Linked DNA regions of Homo sapiens: all the other regions are linked to region 1. The links are contacts of gene promoters, found by promoter capture Hi-C in blood cells and fetal thymus (Javierre and others, 2016). All regions are on one chromosome and are shown on one strand. The core of a region is centred on a gene start or on the middle of the fragment in contact, and the rest is flanking DNA. Distances in the headings are between cores, read along the strand shown.

Region 1 (2,700 bases), core at 4-2,503:
AGGCTGGCGCGCCTCCCCCAACCCAATCGCCCACCCCTTACCCTGTGCTGTGCACCCAGCCGGGCCTCGAGGTGAGGGCAGCGGCTTGGAGGGGACAGGCTCAGAACCCAGTCTCTCGCTGTGCTCGCTTTGTCCAGATCCTCCATTCTCTTCTCTACACCCACACCCACATCCAGGTGGAATATGGGGGCCCGCATGCAAATGAAAGACGAGATCCAAAAGGGCTGGTAAATGCATTTCATAAAAATCCCAAATCCATCTTCCCCAGGAGCTCAGGCAGGGCCAGCCGCGCAGGCTGTGTACGTGTTTGTGTGTACGTGTTTTTCGGTGTGTGTTTCAGTCCCAGTGTGTTGGCGCGTGTTCGAGTACAGATACACCGGGGGTGTTTGGGTACCCGCACATGGCTGCGGGTGGGGCGCAGTGGAGAGGAAGCCCACACATGCGTGTGCTGAGATATGGCCGCATCCTTGTGCTCCCCCAGCCCAGACGCAGGGGAGACCAGCACCGAGACACCCGAGCTCGGGAGCCCTTCAGCGGCGGCCGGGCGGAGCTTGGCTCCACGTGGGGCTGGAGAGCACGCAAGCCTGGAGTCTCGGCGCTCGCTTCTCGGCTGCCGCCGGCTTTTGTAGAACCGAGTGGCCGGATGGCAGCTCGCGGGGAGGCTCGGCCACCCGCCCGGCTCGCCCGGGGCGGGGAGAAGAAGGAGAGCTGGAGAGAGAACCGGCCGCGGCGGTCGGAGAGGCGAGCGGAGTGCAAGAGAGGCGAGCGCCCCTGCCCGGCGCCCGGGCGCGCTCTCCGCCTTCCCCGCCCGGCTCGCCTGCTCGCTGGCTCCCTCCCTCTCTCCCTCCCCCTTCCTCCTTGGCCCTGCCTCCTCCCTCGATCCCCGGCTGGATGACTGAGGCATTTCAGACGTGGGCTGAACCAGAGCGAGCGAGCGAGCTCAGGGGCTGCAGCGATCTCTCGATAAGCCACCTAGAGGCGACTCTGTGCGCGCGCGCTCCCCAGTGGCTCCCGCCCGCCCTCTGATCATGTTGACATATTCACAGGACAGGCAGTAGTACCGATGCGGCGCTGCGACGTTACAGTTTCCGACACCTTCTTTTTATAACTCAGCTCTATCCCCCAGCACTCGACCTGTGAAAACCACGCCTATGCAGCAACACAATTGGTCCGAAAGCGTCAAAGAGCCAATCAAGAGGCCTCCGGCTCCCCGCAGCCCACAGCGCAGCCCGACCTTCTAGAGCCGCCGAGCAGACGCCCGGTGAATTCTAGAGGCGGCGGAGGGTGGCGAGGAGCTCTCGCTTTCTCTCGCTCCCTCCCTCTCCGACTCCGTCTCTCTCTCTCTCTCTCTCTCTCCCCTCCCTCTCTTTCCCTCTGTTCCATTTTTTCCCCCTCTAAATCCTCCCTGCCCTGCGCGCCTGGACACAGATTTAGGAAGCGAATTCGCTCACGTTTTAGGACAAGGAAGAGAGAGAGGCACGGGAGAAGAGCCCAGCAAGATTTGGATTGAAACCGAGACACCCTCCGGAGGCTCGGAGCAGAGGAAGGAGGAGGAGGGCGGCGAACGGAAGCCAGTTTGCAATTCAAGTTTTGATAGCGCTGGTAGAAGGGGGTTTAAATCAGATTTTTTTTTTTTTAAAGGAGAGAGACTTTTTCCGCTCTCTCGCTCCCTGTTAAAGCCGGGTCTAGCACAGCTGCAGACGCCACCAGCGAGAAAGAGGGAGAGGAAGACAGATAGGGGGCGGGGGAAGAAGAAAAAGAAAGGTAAAAAGTCTTCTAGGAGAACCTTTCACATTTGCAACAAAAGACCTAGGGGCTGGAGAGAGATTCCTGGGACGCAGGGCTGGAGTGTCTATTTCGAGCTCAGCGGCAGGGCTCGGGCGCGAGTCGAGACCCTGCTCGCTCCTCTCGCTTCTGAAACCGACGTTCAGGAGCGGCTTTTTAAAAACGCAAGGCACAAGGACGGTCACCCGCGCGACTATGTTTGCTGATTTTTCGCCTTGCCCTCTTTAAAAGCGGCCTCCCATTCTCCAAAAGACACTTCCCCTCCTCCCTTTGAAGTGCATTAGTTGTGATTTCTGCCTCCTTTTCTTTTTTCTTTCTTTTTTGTTTTGCTTTTTCCCCCCTTTTGAATTATGTGCTGCTGTTAAACAACAACAAAAAAACAACAAAACACAGCAGCTGCGGACTTGTCCCCGGCTGGAGCCCAGCGCCCCGCCTGGAGTGGATGAGCCTCTCCATGAGAGATCCGGTCATTCCTGGGACAAGCATGGCCTACCATCCGTTCCTACCTCACCGGGCGCCGGACTTCGCCATGAGCGCGGTGCTGGGTCACCAGCCGCCGTTCTTCCCCGCGCTGACGCTGCCTCCCAACGGCGCGGCGGCGCTCTCGCTGCCGGGCGCCCTGGCCAAGCCGATCATGGATCAATTGGTGGGGGCGGCCGAGACCGGCATCCCGTTCTCCTCCCTGGGGCCCCAGGCGCATCTGAGGCCTTTGAAGACCATGGAGCCCGAAGAAGAGGTGGAGGACGACCCCAAGGTGCACCTGGAGGCTAAAGAACTTTGGGATCAGTTTCACAAGCGGGGCACCGAGATGGTCATTACCAAGTCGGGAAGGTAAGCAGTGGGGGCCTCCTCCCCTAAGCTGTTGGAGAGTTTTTTCCTCCCTTTATTTCTCTGCTCCCAGAACAGTCGGTTGGT
Region 2 (2,700 bases), core at 157-2,656, 980 kb before region 1:
ATATTCAGATGCAAGTACAAAAGCTCAGGTCCCCTTCTTGACATTCATGAGTTTAAGTGTGCTCTTCACTTGGGATTTTTACAGCTAAGTACTTCGGACTTTACACCATTTTCTTTTAAAATGGTGCATGTCTGGACATGATGAATGAATTCATGGCACTTCAAGGGCAGATCTAGGCATTGACATCTATGAATTTATAATTTCTTTTTGATCAAGCCAGAGCTGGCAAGGAGTAAAGAAACCAGAGAGAGCAAGAGGGTCATTTGAAATTACTATCCTTTTCAGGTTTTATACTCCCATCTGGATTCCCCTGCTGAGAAGCAGGCTGGACACTCAGGAAACCCATGCCAGACAGCTAGCTAAGTCCTAGAAGTCAGCTCCTGATGGTATTTGGCAACCTTGGGCCTCTCTGGGCCAAGGGTTTAGTGCCAAGAGTAATTGTGATTTACACCCCTAACCTCTTTGGGTGCAAAATGGTTTTGATTAGATGCATACCATATTTATTAAGCCTTGCACAAGGCAGTCTGGGGGCTTGGCTGTTCTGCCATAAAAGAGAGGGAGATTTACACGGCTCCCTGCAGGATTCATTTAATCTCTTGGGGATTTACTGACCTTCAATTAGAACTGTTAAGTACTGTTTACATGGTCCCTAATTCATACAAGACCAATATAAGGTTGAATTTTGCTTTCATTAAGGACCTATGAATCAAGAAAATAAAAAATAATAAAAAGTCTTTGCCAAGCAAGATGTGATTTGGGTTAAGGAGAAAGAAAAGGAATATCAAAAACAAAAAGCCATTAAAAGTTGAAAGCTTTACTTTGTCATCATTTAGGAGTGGACTGATAGTAAAGAGTTGACACATGTTTAGGATGGATTTGAAATTTTAAAAATCACCTGATTTGAGATTTTTTTGGGGTGAGGATTAGCTTTATAGTTTTAAAACTCTTTCTTACAGTGACCTGGGAAACGACAGTCCCTTGAATTCTTTTCTGTTGTTGAAAATTGGGATTCCTTTGTATTCCCTAGAAGGAAGAGTACCATGTATCTCTTATCAGAGTCAATTGTGCAGACAGAAAATTGCCTTTAGCTGCGCCTTCAAACTGAGATATGTGAACTCCCAGTGGGTGTATATAGAATACCAGGAATACATAAAACCATGAAGCATCATTTATGTGTATTATTCAAGGATTTGGGGAAAAGCATACCTCTTTAAAAGCATTGAAGAAAATACAACTTAGGTCAGAAGTCATTGAAAATGCTTATAGTAGACAGGCAAGTGGAGAATAAGTATGCTGGGCTGGATTGGGGACTGCACTAAAGTGAGGAAGTCATGTTCCATCTTAAGAGGCACTCACTGCTGCACCACAGGCTCAGTAAATATTGTTGGATGAACTATTAAAAAGTGGTCACCTCTACTCCTGGCTCTGGAACTTGTTCCTGAAGGACAATGCTATGCAAATTGCTCAGAGCCACAGACTCATACTAGCAGAAGTCAGTTTAAACCCTTTGATACATTATGGGCATCACTTTCAGTGTCTGCCTTGGACACAGAATGCATAAGCTATGACAGCCTAGAGTTGTGTAAAACATATTCAACCACAGGATAGCATGATAATCACAATAGTTGCAGCCTGCAGCCAACAATGATTAGCAACCTGATTAGTGATTAGTGATTGCCTACCAGATGTGTTAAATGCCTTGTTTACATCACGTCACTGAATGTCCCCAACTGTCCTGTATGGTAGTTATTATTGTCATTGTTTGACAGATGAGGAAACTGAGGTTTAGCAAGGTGAAGTCACTTGCTCAGGTCACATAGTTTGGAAGCAGAAAGCCATGCCTCGCCCTCGATTCCACAGCCCAGAGCCTGTGTTCCTGGCCAACATGAAACATCATGAAAAGGCTGAGGTGAAAGTCTAGCGCTTCCTTTTATTAGGCAGCTTGGTTCCAACTTAGAGCAGAAGCTGGGAGTCAATTTTCATACTTTCACATAAGCTTCTACCCATTGGTGTCCCCTCCTGTGGAATGAATTATTCCCTGAAAGATGAGTTTGTGCACCCTTGATGAAGAGGGAGCCCAGTGAATCCTAACACCATTGTCAAAATCCTGATACCCAGTGGTGAGACCAACATGGGTGTTCTCAAGGACCAGAAAAATTTCAACATGGGTTGAAATTATGAGATGGAACAATACTCAGTTTGGTGACCTGGTAATGGGCTTAGCAATTTTTTTTTCTTTTTTAAATTGTGGTTTAAAAAAACCCTACATTATCTATGCTCTTAACAAATTTTGAAGTGTACAGTATAGTATGGTTAAAGGATGTACATTGTTGTGAAGCAGATCTCTAGAACTTTTTAAATTTGCATAACCAGAACTCTACCTTTTGAACAATAACTCCTCATTTCTCCCTCATCTCAGCCCCTAGCATTCCCCATTTGACTTTCTGCTTCTATGAGGTGGACTATTTTATATACTGCCTATAAGTGAAATAATGAAACATTTGTCCTTCTGTGCCTGGCTTATTTCACTCAGCATAATGTCCTCAAGCTTCATCCATGTTGTAGCATATGGCAGGATTTCTTTCTTTTTAAAGGTTGAATGATATTTCATTGTATGTATATACCACACTTTATCAAATTATTCATTAATGTTTCCACCTCTGTGCTACTGTGAGTAATAATGCAGTGAACATGGGTGTG
Region 3 (2,700 bases), core at 198-2,697, 660 kb before region 1:
TGGAAGAATGCGCCCTCAGTTTGACCTTCTGTGGTAGAGGAAAAGAGAGAAAGTCTAGATTTAAAAAAACAAACAAACAAATACAATGACAAAAAGCTCTTCTTTACTTTGACTGTTTTGCTCTTGTCTGCTTAATTTCTCTTAACTGTGGGCTCCTTGAGGGAAGATACCCCATCGGATTTCTTTGTGCACCCTCAGAACCTCCCTAACACAAGGTACAGATCTCGGAAGGTATAAGTGAATGGATAAATGAATGTAAGAGGGAGTGATTTGCAAAATCATTGCCAGCTTTGCTATTTTTCTTTTCTCTTAGACACGATCAGTAATAGAAGACTACTACATTTTATTCGTCTAAGGAAGGGATGTTCTTAAACTTAGGTTTCCTCTACCTTCTTTCCTCAGAAAGAAAAAACAATAAAGATTCCTATGAGGAAATTATAATAAAGAGGAGGCCATACACAGTGTTACATAACTCAAATTGCAAACTGTGATTGGTTTTGGTAGGGAGGCGGGATTTGGGGGATGAGGAAGAGACTTCCTGCCAACAAGCTCCTCACATTTCAGTGCCCTAGGTAATCATCCACTGGAAATCCTCTTAAAGCCCACGTTCATGCATTCCACATTTAAAATGCATAAAACTTTTGATGATTCAAAAAGGCTCTGCGAGGTTGATGTGGTGGTCAGGGCCATGTGAATCCTAGGTCATGTGAATCCTCATACCCCATAATATGTCTCGAGGGATTTCTCAAATCCCATGTTTACGAAAGTGAGCCTTATGCCCTTCTGTACACTTATACATGTTTAAAGGATCGTCTTGAAGTGTGAAGAAACAAAGGTGTGGGAGTCAGAGCCCATTTCATTGTCTATGGAGCCAGGATCCCAGCAGAAAAAAAAAAAATTCGTTCAGCTGTTTAACTGAGAGACATTTCCATAAGGGCTATTTACAGAATTGTGAGCTGAGTTAGGAGAACCAGAAATGGATGATGAAGCACCATCAGGGACTTCTAACAGCAGGAAGTTGTCACCAACCCTGGAACACAAGGGGCAGTGGGAGGAAAAGGACCCTTGGAGTCCAGTGAAAGCTGGAGCCATGGAGGTGAGGTCACCCAGTGAGTGATGTAGACATGGGGAGCCACAAACCCTTTCAGATATATAATACAGAAGCAGAGAGGGAGTAGAGGCATTGATACCCAAGCTCTCTCTCTTGCCACCCTCAGTCTTCTGCTGGTGTTTATCATTGGTCAAACCCAACTGAAAGCCGGGGTAAGGGAACATGAGTTTCATAGTCTGTGTGCATCACAAAGAGGGCAGAGCAAGGTAGAGAATTAACCTTCGAGATGGAATTGGAGTTAGAATAACCAGCATCCTTGATTCAAGGTGGTAAAAGGGAAGACAATGCTACCTGCCTATTTGTTAAGGAGACTGAGTTGACAGGAACAAAGTTTATCGGGTGATATTCCCATGCAGAATCAACATAGAAGCTCCTCATTCTTTGGCAAGAAATGTTCCCTCCAATTGTATATATTTGACATTGGTCGGAGTGATGGATGGAGAGAAAAAAATAAAGGATACTAGGTCCTTGGTGTGTTGTTTCACGTGAAGACCACAAAGATTTTCTAGCGGAGAGATGTATTCTTATGGTAACCAGTTTCTAATAGTCCTATCCTTGTGTAGTTCCCTCCCACATTATACCAGGGTTGGTCTCACCAATGGCATACAGCGGAAGTGATGGTGTTTCACCTCTGAGATTAGATAACAAAAGAAATTGCAGGTATATTATCTCTCCCCCATCCCCCCCTTTCCTGCTCTCCTTTTTTCTTCCTCCCTTCTCCCTCCTCCCTGCTCTCTTCTCTCCTCTCTGTCTTTCAACTGATCATGGTGGGGGGCGGGGTGGGGGGCAGGTGGGGGGAGCTATTTTGGGAGCAGCCCTGAAGAGAGACCTACATAGTGAGAATCTGAGACTTCCTGCCAACAGCCACATGAATAAGCATTGAAATGAATTTCCCCCAGTCAAGCCTTCAAATGAGACGACAGCCCATCTGACTACTTGACTGCCATGTCATGAGAGACTCTGAAGCAGAACCATGCAGTTAAGCTGCTTCCAGATTCTTGACGTTCAGAAACTGCGAGCTAACTTTGAGGTTAAATGCATTTGCTCCTTTTCAGTAATGATTTGTAACATGCATTTATTTTGTGCTTATTTTAATCTTTCACAAAGCCTGGGATTCACACTCTCTTAACTGTGTAACAAAGTCCTTGTCTAGCCTCTGAGACTCAGTTTCTTCAATTTTCAGTGAAGATCACAATAATCCTATCAAAAGGGTTGTCCTGAGGATCAAATTGTTGTCCAAAATACTTATAGTATTCTAATTCCCTTAGGACAGTGCCTAAAACAGAGTAACTACTTAACAAACTTAGTTGTTATCATTAAAGAGGGAGAAAAATGGGTTTCAAATACTATTTATAATTAAGATCATGGCACCAATGAAACCTGAGATTACAGTTCACCATTATTGCATGGTCTATTTCAGCTCTGTTATTTCTCTTGCCTCGAAGACAGTTCTGTTCTCTCACAATTGCTGCAATGCACAGTTTCCCAAAACAACATGCAGTTCTGCCAACCTCAGAGGCCTGGAGCTTTGAAACATCCCCCTCCTGACCATGGAGAATTGGCTGTCTCCACTCGCGCCTCCTTGGCAG
Region 4 (2,700 bases), core at 143-2,642, 940 kb before region 1:
TTTTTTTTTAGTAGAGATGGGTTTTCACTGTGTTAGCCAGGATGGTCTCGATCTCCTGACCTTGTGATCTGCCTGCCTCGGCCTCCCAAAGTGCTGGCATTACAGGCATGAGCCACCACGCCCAGCTGTCTTGTACATTTTCAATAATAAACTCTAAGAGGTTTTCTAACTTAAAAAATAAAGTTTTTTGAAAGAAAGTTGAATAGCATCATTTCAAAAAGTGATCTCAGGTGAATTAGGGCCAAACTAGCTCTATCAAGCTTAGAAATCTGATTGTAATAAACAGTGAAGGCCAAAGGATTTGCATTGTACAAGCTTCCCACCCTACCTATTAATGCCATGTTTATTCTTCCTGCTTGTTGATATCTGTATCTCCAGAGGCTTAAATGAAGTTGATAGTCAAAGTAATTTATGTAGTTTGCTCAGTCAGACACATCAACTCTGGGGAGAAAGAAAAGACACATTATGCTTGTCTGATTGTAAATAACTCAGGTTGGGGGTTTCCATGGATATAGTTTATCCCATGGCCATTCCTATCTTCTTCCTTAGGCCACTGCAGGCTTCAAGGAGACCCTGAGGTAGTAAATGGTGGCTAAAACCAATACTGCTGTTTACCCTTTTAAGTATTTTGAGTTCCTAACAGCTTCCCTTAGAGAGTTCCTAACTCCTTAGAGAGGAGATAGGGGTGGTGTGGAGTAAAGGTCAACAAACTTTTTCTGTGAAGGACCAGATAGTAAATATTTTAGGCTTTGCAGGTCATAAGATCTTTGTCACAACTACTTAGCTTTGTGATTGTAGTGTGAAGGCAGCCATAGATGATACGTAAGTAAATGGACATGGCTGAGTGCCAATCAAATTTTATCTATGGACACCCAAATTTGAATTTCCTATAATTTTTACATATCACCAAATACTCTTCTTCTTTTGAACTCCTCCCACCATTTAAAAATGTAAAACCAATCTTAGATTGTGGACATATGAAAGTAAGTGGTGGACTGGACTTGGCCTCTCAGGCTGGAGTTTACTGACCTCTGGTGTAAGAAATGGAATGGAGATTTATACTACTGAACTTACTATTATTTTTAATGATGTGGAAATAGTGCTTTTTTTAGTTAAAATAAATGAGTATATACTTTTATAACACAGGGTACCAGATGTCATGAAAATGTATATTTTTCTGATGCACAATATGTAATTTTTAAACTGGCTCAGATATTGTGTCAGATCAATTGATAACTGCAATATATAAAACATATGAAACTAATTCCAGGAAATACCTTATATTTATGTCCTTGGGTCTGAATTTCTGAGCTCTCTGTGTTTAGGGATGGAATTTGGTTTATTCAAAGAGTAGCAGGTTATATATCTTGATGGTTACATTAGCTCAATATTTTGTTTCCTTTCTGGAGCAGGTAAGCCTTACAGACTGTTTTAGTTTGCAGCAATTAAATTTGCTTATCGCTGTGAAACAGAATTTCATTTGAAGCCAGTTATTAATGTCTAAAATGCACTTCCAGGAAATAATTTTGAACGTTTTATTTATTAAAAAGAACTCAATGTTTGTTCAAAGGCATTGATGTAATTTACAAAGTTCGATATTAGATATTTTATGAGGCAATATAAAAATGCCATTTTGCAAGGCCCCATTTTTTTAATTGTACTGTGGCACATTCAATGTCAGTATAAGGTGCTATTTTGTATTCTGCTTTTATGGCACTACTTAGTAAGTTTATTAAGAGAATTAGCAAACAAAAAACCTTCCACTCTTCCCAGCCCTGGATTCTTCTCATTTGCTGGTTTATTTTTAATGAAACATCTTCAAAAGGTACATAAAAGAAGCCTCTTTACTTATACAGCTTTAGTGCCTCACCTTTATGGAAAAAGAAGAAATTTGGGAATTTGATTTCATCTGGAAAATCTGGGACACATGATACTGTATCAGATCTTGCTATACCTCACCAATATTCTCTTTGCACTTGTCAAGTACATGCCTATGGTGCCAATGCAAACACCTGAGACTCTCCATCTGAGGGCTTTCTCTTGGACTCAGTGAAGGGCAGGGTAGAAATGCTGGGGAATCAACACCCCAGGAGCAGTCCTTTATCAACAGTGGATGGGTGTTAGAGAATAAATACTTGTCTTCTTCCCCACTCAGGGAACGTAACTTTAAAGCATGTTCTATGCAGCCTTTCAGAGTTCTCCAAAGGATTCAGTTTCCAGTTGGCCACTGTGGGAACCTGCTCCACAATGCAGTGTATCGGTTATCTACTTTTGCATAACATGTCATCCCAAAACTTAGTGACTTAAAGCAACAAATACCTACTATTTTACAGTGGGGTAGGGTTTCAGATAAGGAGTAGTTGGGTGGATCTGGCAGGTTCTCTCATGAAGTTGCAGTCAAGATGTCGGCCAGGACTGTGATCTCATCTGAAGGCTTGACTGAGGCTGAAGCATCTGTTTCCAAGCTTACTCCCATGGCTGTTGGCAGGAGACCTCAGTTGCTCACTACATGGGCCTCTCCACAGGGCTGTTTGAGTGTCTTCTGACATGGTTTCTGGTTTCCTAGAATATGACAATGGCTGTCTACAGAAACTAACGATTTGTTCTTCTTCTCACTCTGGGACAATTTTGTCCTCTCTATTACTCAGGATAGACTAGTTGCTAAAACCACCACCACAACAAAAATCTTCAAAATGTCCA
Region 5 (2,700 bases), core at 20-2,519, 970 kb before region 1:
ATATATACACATATATATAATACATATATATAAAATACATATATATGTATATATTTTTTGAGACAGAGTCTTGCTCTGTCACCTAGGCTGGAGTGCAGTGGTGTGATCTGGGCTCACTGCAGCCTGTGCCTCCTGAGTTCAAGCGGTTCTCTTGCCTCAGCCTCCTGAGCAGCTGGGATTACAGGCACCTGTCACCATGCCCAACTAATTTTTGTACTTTCTGTAGAGACACGGTTTCACCATGTTGGCCAGGCTGGTCTCGAACTCCTAACCTCAGGTGATCCACCCAGCTAGGCCTCCCAAAGTGCTGGGATTATAGGCATGAGCCACCATGGCGCCCAGCCCCATTAGATTTTGATGTGAAGTTAGGCTGGGAAATCACCAGATGAGAGGGTTTTCCTAAAGCCCATTCTGGCTTGGGAATTCTAACATTCCATAGTGATTTTTCCTCCATTGATCCTAGTCTAACTAAACACAGGTCTATTTATTGATCCATCACAGGGTCATCCCTCGCCTTTATCCCCAGGTACCATTCAGCCCCAGGTAAACTGTGCCCGAGGGCCAGCCACATGTGCTGGGTACCTGGAAAAACTGCCTGTAGCGCCAGCCTCCCACCTCCTCCTGGGTGCATGTGTATTAAATCGTGGTATAGTGGCTAATTCTTTGCAGCTTGCAGGTTGCTGCCTCCATTTCAGCAGACACGAGGGCGCCCTGACACAGTTAAAGATCACAAGCTTTGATAACCTGCCCTTCTGATTTATAACAGTCGGGGTCTCCACATTCACCTAATGAGGGGAACTCGGAGTGTCAACCTGTTTATTAAATGCTCAGAACCATGTGTGAGCCGGAATGAGGTAAGAAGTCAATCATATTTTCATTTATTCTGCGTGTCCCCTGCCTGTTCATTCAGGCCTCTCTCCCCGAGACTGTCAGTCTGCCAAACTATTTCTTTTCATCTCCAAAGGGGAGGACTTTAGGATAGATCATTTGCAGAGACGGTCGGGGTCCACAATGTTTGCACTTCCCTACTGATTTCATAGGTGTTTGGAAGTTAATGATACTCAACACCTCATGATTCTTTCCTATATGTCAAACAAAGACATGAAAGGGAAAGTGGCCAGAGGGGAGAGGTAGGTAGGGGGTGCAGGGTGGGGAAGACAGAAACGTATCCATAGCTTTCCCTTTCCTTCACCCTAGGCCTGGAGAGATTGGAGAGATTGTGAGTCTTAATGCAAATGGAAGATGGATTAATCTTCCTGAAGTTGTCGGCATCTAATGAAGTCTTAATTCATCTTCTTTAATTCCCTTTAAAATAAAAAAAAGCATAAATCAAAATAACAAATGGCCCGGCTGCTTTAATCTCCACTTGTTCTCACCCCCTTCCCCTTTGCAACTTGGTCACTGTCATTTTCTTAATCTCTGGAGATTCCGCCCTGATTCCTTTCAAGTGGCATCAGCTCTGTCTCTTAGGTTTGGTATTCTGGAGTTGGCATAAATATTTCTGCCTGTTTGAGGCCCCTGGCTGGATTCTGACCTTGGACATGACTGGGGGAGGGGGCAGAGCAGGCCACACTCTGAAGTTTACTTGGTAAGATGAGCTCTAGGTGGCCCAGTCTGAAGACCTGGGAAGAGTTCTGCAACCTCACATCTGTGACTAAAGCAGGCTTTACTGGAACTGCTGGTCTATATTGTTCTATTCTTGGATTCTTGGTGCTTTCTTGTGATACATGATGGTACATGTAATGATACTTATTCATTAAGTGATACATTGTTTCATTTAAAATAACCTCAGGAGTAAGCTTGTGAAGAATTCAAACTTCATATTCTTTTTTCTTTCACTGAAATTGCCTTTTTTTTTTTTTACTTCTAAAGCATACATACACACATTTTCTTGAGATTAGAAACTCTTTTTAAAATTTTAAAAATTTTTTACTTCTAAAGTATACATACACACATTTTCTTGAGATTAGAAACTCTGTTTTGTCCTTTGAGGGTATATTTATATAAGAAACAAAGCAGTAAAGGCCTGCATGGTAAAGCAAGGGCATTTGCGCTAGAGGACCAACATTCAGGCTCCAATAACGTCATCCATTAACAGTTTATACACCAACCCCATTATCACTGGATTCTCATTACATCTGTGTGGATCAAGCAGGACAACTCATTTCTTGCTTCATATTCTTTTTCAGTTCTTGTATCTTGTATCTTGCCCTGTGCCCAGCTTAAAACAGATGCTACATAAATATTTGTTGAATGAGTGAACAAATGGATGGATGAATAAACAGAGTTGCCTGATTGTGCATTGTGCAATCTTTAACTTAAATTTGGTCTCTGTTTGTTTTTGTGTAATGGTTATAGAGATATCCTGGCTTGGGGCAACGTGGAATAGCTGAACACCTGTGGTAGATTGGTGTTAATGTGGCCCTGCCTGTTTTCTCTGTCTGTCTTAGTAACAGAACCTCCATCTTTAGCTGGACAATAGATAGCTGGAATGAAGACATTTCCCAGACTTCCTTCCAGCAAAGTGTGGCCATGTTCTGCCCACTGAAATTTAAGTGGTGGTGTTGTATGGTTAATGTCCTTAAAAAGACAGCTGGAACAAACCCCTTGCTTCTTCTCTTGCTGCTCCATATGGTTGGAATGCAGACATGAGGGCTAGAGCCCAACAGCTATTTTAGACTATGAGGCAGGAAGTTAAGA
Region 6 (2,700 bases), core at 165-2,664, 760 kb before region 1:
TTGCTAGGTGGCATTCTTGGGCTTGTTGAGGTGAGATGACAATTCCATCAAAGATCACACACTTTCTGTGCTCTGTGGACTTCCCTTCAGGCCCCCAAGTGATGTCTGGGAGTCTCACCTTAATCCACCAAATAGTCCTGAGTGGGAATTTAAGCCTTGTTTGGTTCTTGAGCCCCGTGCTGCAGATCTGTAGATAACATGGGAGCACAGCTGCCCTTGGGGCCTGAGGTTGATAGAGATCAGGCAGAAGGTTGTTTGGGAAGACACAAGGTAGGGCCATAAACCATCTTGGCAAGACTCCCATGCCAGTTACTGGTTGGATTCTTCCTTATCCTCCATCTGCCAGGGTTCCTCTTTGTTGGGGGCTGTAATTACAGGTAGCAGGGTTGCTAAGAGGCTTTTAATCCCTAGATTTACTGGTTGATTTTATGCTCCTAGGTGCTTTTGCTCTTTTATTCTCCAGCAAATTGGCTAGCTGCACGAGAAGTTCAAACCCTTGGTGTATTCTGCCTCCTGGGAGGTTAGTGATGCTTTGTGAAGGCTGCCAGCCTCCAAGCAGACAATTGAATTGCCCCAGAGCTGAGTTTTCATCAGTTTTCCAAGCTCATGACTCAAAGGGCCTTGACCAAGGGCATGGAGAGGAAAAAGGAACAGGGCGGACCATGAGCAGAGGTTTAAATCTCACCTCCACCTTTGGAAATTGTCTGGCCCTGGGCAAGGACAAAGCCTCTTTAGACTTCAGTTTTCTTCTCTGTAAAACGACCGAAAAAGGTGGTTGAGAGGATTGAATTAAATGCCATATGTTGCCAGCTCTATTGTAGGTACTCAGTAAAAGTGAGTCTTTTCCCCTGTGGCATCTTCTGTTCTGAAACCTTATGTGGTTCCCTTCTACTGACCTGATCAGACCTAAGAAGGAAATGAACCAGTGGAGAATGGGGAGAACAGTGTTTCAGACAGAGTGGACAGTCAGCACAAAGGCCCACGGAGAGTGCGGGGTGTTCGGGCAGCACCTGGAAGGCTGGGATGACCAGGAAGGGAGACAGGGGTGGGAATTTTGGGGTGGGCAAATCAGCAGGGGCTGCATAAAGAGTTTGGATCTGATGAAAAAAAAAGGAGATGCTCTAAGCAGGAGAGCAATTTGATCTTGCAACAGCTTAAGATGATTGCTGTCTGCTGCAACGTGAATGCTGGTGCACCCTTTTTTGTAAGGGCTTGGTGGATAGCTTTGTCCAAGTGACCTTCCTCGGTGCCTGAGGTTTCAGAAGCATCGTAGATCTGAAAGGGTTGGGGAAAAGCCTGTTCTCTTTCCAAGACCAAGTTGAGAGCCTGGGATTCTTGGCTGGTGCTGCATAAAAGCTCTGTGATTCTGCAGGAAAGAAAGGCAATGGGCACAGGTGGTGGTATCTTGCCCATGCTCTTCCTGCTGGTTGCAATTGTCTCCATGACTTCAGCCCAAGGAGAACGAAGCACACAGTGTGGACAGTCACTAAAAACCATGCTGTGTTCCCTGAGGGCTTTGGAGTCAGATCGATCTCACCTTAAATTGTGGCCCTGCCACTTTCTAGTGTCAGATCTTTTTGAGTCTTGATTTTTTAATTTGTAAAATGTGAACAACAGTAGCCTTGACTTCATAGCATGGGTCTGAACATTGAGAGAAGTATTGCATGTCATATAGTCATTCAAATACCTGGTATGCACTGCTGTTGTTTTTATTAGCTGCAAGGCTACTGCCACAAGTTTTTCCTTTTGATAAATTTGAAAAATAAAGGACAAATATAATGATAGTTCCTGTATTAATCAGGAACTCTAGAGGGACAGAACTAATAGGATATCTACATATGTGTGTGTATGTGTATATATATATATATATATATATATATAGAGAGAGAGAGAGAGAGAGAGAGAGAGAGAGAGAGAGAGAGAGAGAGAGACAGAGAGGACAGAACTGACTAGTCAGTTCTCTAGAGGGACAGAACTAACTAGATATATACTAGTTAGAGGGACAGAACTAACTAGATATATATATATCCTATTAGTTACATATATATAGGAATTTATTAAGTATTAACTCACATGATCACAGGATCCCAAAATAGGTCATCTGCAATCTGAGGAGGAAGGAGAGCCAGTCTGAGTCCCAAAACTGAAGAACTTGGAGTCCGATGTTTGAGGGCAGGAAGCATCCAGCACGGGAGAAAGATGTAAGCTGGGAGGCTAGGCCCGTCTCGTCTTTTCACGTTTTTCTGCCTGTTTTATATTCTAGCCATGCTGGCAGCTGATTAGATGGTGCCCACCCAGATTAAGGGTGGGTCTGCCTTTCCCTGCCCACTGTCTCAAATATGAATCTCCCTTGGCAGCACCCTCACAGACCACGCCCAGGATCAATACTTTTGCATCCTTCAATCCAATCAAGTTGACATGCAGTATTAACCATCACAGTTCCCAACAATTCCAATGTCCAGAATTTTAAGAAGTGTTAATACTTATAGTTTTACATGTTGATTTGTGAAGTCTCATGGGCTTTGAATGTGAGCCCAGTGACAAGGAATAAGCTCAGATTTTATTCTTAGATGGACAGCTTCCTAGCTGTTGTGAATCTGGGCAATTCATGTCACCCCTCTAAGCCTATTTCTTCATCTTTAAGAAGGCAATACCTCCTTCGGAACAGTGATAATTGATATTTATAAGGAATGTCATGGA
Region 7 (2,700 bases), core at 35-2,534, 720 kb before region 1:
CACACACACACACACACACACACACACACACACACATATATTTCCTTTAAATTTGATTTTTGGGGACTGTCTTTTGTTTTTGTTTAAGAAATCATTCCCTGCCTGAATAAAAATTAAAAAAAAAAACTCTCCTATAGTGTTTTCTAGAAGCTTTATTGTTTTTACTTCCATATTTAGATATACAATATATCATTTTGTTCTTTGATTTTTCTCGCATCATACAGCCTTCTTTTCTGTTCCTGGGATACCCCTAAATCCCATGTCAGAAAAGACGTGCAGCTTTATGACTTAGCAAAAGTGATAGCAACAACACAATCATAATAACCGAGATGCGTGCAAGACCTTGTGACACACATTTCCATCCATTAACTGATTTAATTCTTTCATATCAGCCCTTGGAAACTGTTGAAGTGAGCATCATAATGCCCATTTTAAAGATGGAAAGAGTGAGCCTTAGAGAAAAGTAACTTGCCCAAGTTCACATAGCTGATAAATAGCAGAACAAGGAGATTCAAATATAGATCTGCCTGGTTTCAAAATATATTCTCCTTTTATCGCCTGGTGTTGATTAAGATGACTTGAGGTTACTAAGTCCCTGTTACTCACAGTTTTGTGTAAGATTTTCCAAGAATCTCACAGGAATTTTGTGTGCAGCCAAAAAATTCCTGGTATTTCCCATGATGTCATTGGACTGAGATATAGAATAGGTTTCTTTTCATGTAATCTGCAGAGCAGAGGTGCACCAGAGAGTTGGGTCATCAGAGGGTTAACATTTTGACTTGCCTAGGGAAATAAGAGTTTCTTTACCTCTGGTCCTCCCTCATCCTCTGGGAAGCCTCGGATGCTGTTTTACAGCCTGGCTGATCTTACGGTAAATGATACAAGCAGCAGCTTTTAAAAATCCGAGTTGCTGCTTCGAGTATTAGAAATGCCTCTAGAGTTTGGTAGTTAAAGCCAAAGCAGATGGATAAACACTAGTAGCTGCCGAAGGTGGTGCATGATGTCAATGGAGAACAGGCAAGGCAGGTCTTTCGTAGGGGACAGCCGTTGTTTGACCTGGCAGCGCCCTCACTTCTTCAGGGACTGGTGATCCTTTGATAAATTGCTCCTGCCTCCTCTCTAAACATATGGTTTGAATAGAGGCTGTCCATGCTAGCTCCCCACCCTCTTGGGCTGGGTGATGGGTACAGCATTGGACACACCATCCAACAGAGCCAATGAGGTGCCTTCCCTGGGATTTTTCCAACCAAAGCAGGAAAGAAAGTCTGTTCCTATTTTGATACATCTCTGAGGAACACTTCCCAGGCAATAAATATCTATGAAATGAATGAATGAATCCCCATTGCCAAGTGAACTCTCAGAGGGTATCTCTGTTCATAGTGAGAATTTATCATGCTTTTGGATAAGTACGTGAATAAATTAGGAGAGCATGCGTGTGTTCATAAACGGGGATGTAAGAGAGTAAGTGAATAAATAAACAAGTGAATATATACTCTGCAATTCTGATTGTTTATATTTCTCATACTGATAGACATTTGCATTCCAAAGAGATCCACTTTGTTCCAGTTATCTTTGCTGTGTAACAAAGTGTCCAAAAACTTAATGGTATAAACAACCATTTCATTAGGTAACAGATTCTGTGACTCAGAAGTTTTGATAGAAGGTGCAGACAGGTGTTCTCTGCTCCAAGATGTCTAAGGTCTAATCTGGACATAATTCAATGGCTGGGATATGTAGGTGCTAAGCGAAGGGATTTCTAGGTGATCCCAGCTCCCAGGACCTGTTAAATCCTAAACCAGACCATGGCACTCCTCTGTTCAAAACGAACAGCTCACTCCAACCTCGTGACCTTTGCACTACAGCCCCCTCTGCTTGGAATTCTCTGCTACAGAAATCTGCAAGGCAGATTTACTTACAGGAACTGGGATCACTTAAAAATGCCATCGCTTAGCACTTACATATGGCCTCTCCATGTGGCCTGGGCTTCCTCTTAGTGTGGCAGCCTCAGGGTTAGTTGGAACTCTTACATGGTGTTTTGAGGTTCTAGCATAAGTGTCTTAGTGGACAGGGCAGAAGCGGTATTGCTTTTTATGAAGTTGCACAATATAACTTTTGCCATACTCTATTAGACTCTACTGGTCAAAACCTTAGAAGTTACACAATATAATTTCTGCCATACTCTATTAGACTCTACTGGTCGAAACAGTCACAGCCCACCCAGGTCTAAAGGATGGGAACACAAACCCCAACCGCTGGATGGGAGGGTGCAAGGTCATATTGTAGAAGAGCATATAGAATGGAAAATATTGTTGTGTTCGGAAAACAATCAGCCACATGATTTAAATCAAATCAATTGGTCTCTGGGGGAGTTTTTAGTTTTAGGAAGATATTTCTCAGGACTCCTGAAGTCAAAGCTTTAAGATGACCTCTTAGAGGATCTGTATATACCCTAGCACTGTCTAGAGCAAAGTATTCCACCAGGATTCACCAATGGAAATAAGACATAGTGGGTCGAAAATGGCCCCCAACTATGTCCACATCCTAATCCCCGAAACCTGTGACTGTGTTATCTTACATGACAAAAGAGCCTTTGTGTGTGTGATGAAGATAAGAACCTTGAGATAGGAAGAGGATAAGAGAGAAGCAGAAGTGTCAGAGTCAGAGAAGGAGATGTGATGCTGGAAAGAGGGCTGAGAGAGA

What was found. The method cuts DNA at HindIII sites, captures the fragments that hold promoters and counts their contacts. A CHiCAGO score of 5 or more calls a contact.
Region 2: a fragment that was not itself captured here is called in contact with the fragment with the promoter of TBX3 in region 1 in 1 of 17 cell types (endothelial precursors); the score reaches 7.1 in endothelial precursors.
Region 3: a contact is called between a fragment that was not itself captured here and the fragment with the promoter of TBX3 in region 1, in 1 of 17 cell types (endothelial precursors). The highest score is 7.1, in endothelial precursors.
Region 4: a contact is called between a fragment that was not itself captured here and the fragment with the promoter of TBX3 in region 1, in 1 of 17 cell types (endothelial precursors). The highest score is 6.1, in endothelial precursors.
Region 5: a fragment that was not itself captured here is called in contact with the fragment with the promoter of TBX3 in region 1 in 1 of 17 cell types (endothelial precursors); the score reaches 6.6 in endothelial precursors.
Region 6: a fragment that was not itself captured here is called in contact with the fragment with the promoter of TBX3 in region 1 in 1 of 17 cell types (endothelial precursors); the score reaches 6.3 in endothelial precursors.
Region 7: a contact is called between a fragment that was not itself captured here and the fragment with the promoter of TBX3 in region 1, in 1 of 17 cell types (endothelial precursors). The highest score is 6.1, in endothelial precursors.

What each region holds. Positions count from the first base shown.
Region 1 is chr12:114,682,728-114,685,427 of GRCh38, reverse strand. TBX3 (T-box transcription factor 3) reads left to right here and starts at 1,253. Exons shown (of 7, transcript NM_005996.4): 1 at 1,253-2,616. The coding sequence starts at 2,228. All of the region lies in intron 1 of TBX3-AS1 (TBX3 antisense RNA 1), which reads right to left. RefSeq lists a promoter at 742-1,251. The HindIII fragment of the contact is 4,535 bases long and covers 1-2,700 here.
Region 2 is chr12:115,665,021-115,667,720 of GRCh38, reverse strand. The region is part of intron 1 of LOC105370003 (a long non-coding RNA gene); the gene reads left to right. Among named protein-coding and RNA genes, the nearest start is that of LINC02463, 220 kb to the left of the region's middle. The HindIII fragment of the contact is 1,184 bases long and covers 815-1,998 here.
Region 3 is chr12:115,341,681-115,344,380 of GRCh38, reverse strand. The region is part of intron 2 of LOC124903082 (a long non-coding RNA gene); the gene reads left to right. Among named protein-coding and RNA genes, the nearest start is that of LINC02463, 540 kb to the left of the region's middle. RefSeq lists an enhancer at 2,313-2,700. The HindIII fragment of the contact is 3,543 bases long and covers 1-2,700 here.
Region 4 is chr12:115,625,136-115,627,835 of GRCh38, reverse strand. The region is part of intron 1 of LOC105370003 (a long non-coding RNA gene); the gene reads left to right. All of the region lies in intron 2 of LOC105370002 (a long non-coding RNA gene), which reads left to right. Among named protein-coding and RNA genes, the nearest start is that of LINC02463, 260 kb to the left of the region's middle. The HindIII fragment of the contact is 2,150 bases long and covers 318-2,467 here.
Region 5 is chr12:115,648,272-115,650,971 of GRCh38, reverse strand. All of the region lies in intron 1 of LOC105370003 (a long non-coding RNA gene), which reads left to right. Among named protein-coding and RNA genes, the nearest start is that of LINC02463, 240 kb to the left of the region's middle. The HindIII fragment of the contact is 1,065 bases long and covers 737-1,801 here.
Region 6 is chr12:115,441,002-115,443,701 of GRCh38, reverse strand. All of the region lies in intron 2 of LOC105370003 (a long non-coding RNA gene), which reads left to right. Among named protein-coding and RNA genes, the nearest start is that of LINC02463, 440 kb to the left of the region's middle. The HindIII fragment of the contact is 3,747 bases long and covers 1-2,700 here.
Region 7 is chr12:115,403,321-115,406,020 of GRCh38, reverse strand. All of the region lies in intron 3 of LOC105370003 (a long non-coding RNA gene), which reads left to right. Among named protein-coding and RNA genes, the nearest start is that of LINC02463, 480 kb to the left of the region's middle. The HindIII fragment of the contact is 2,264 bases long and covers 153-2,416 here.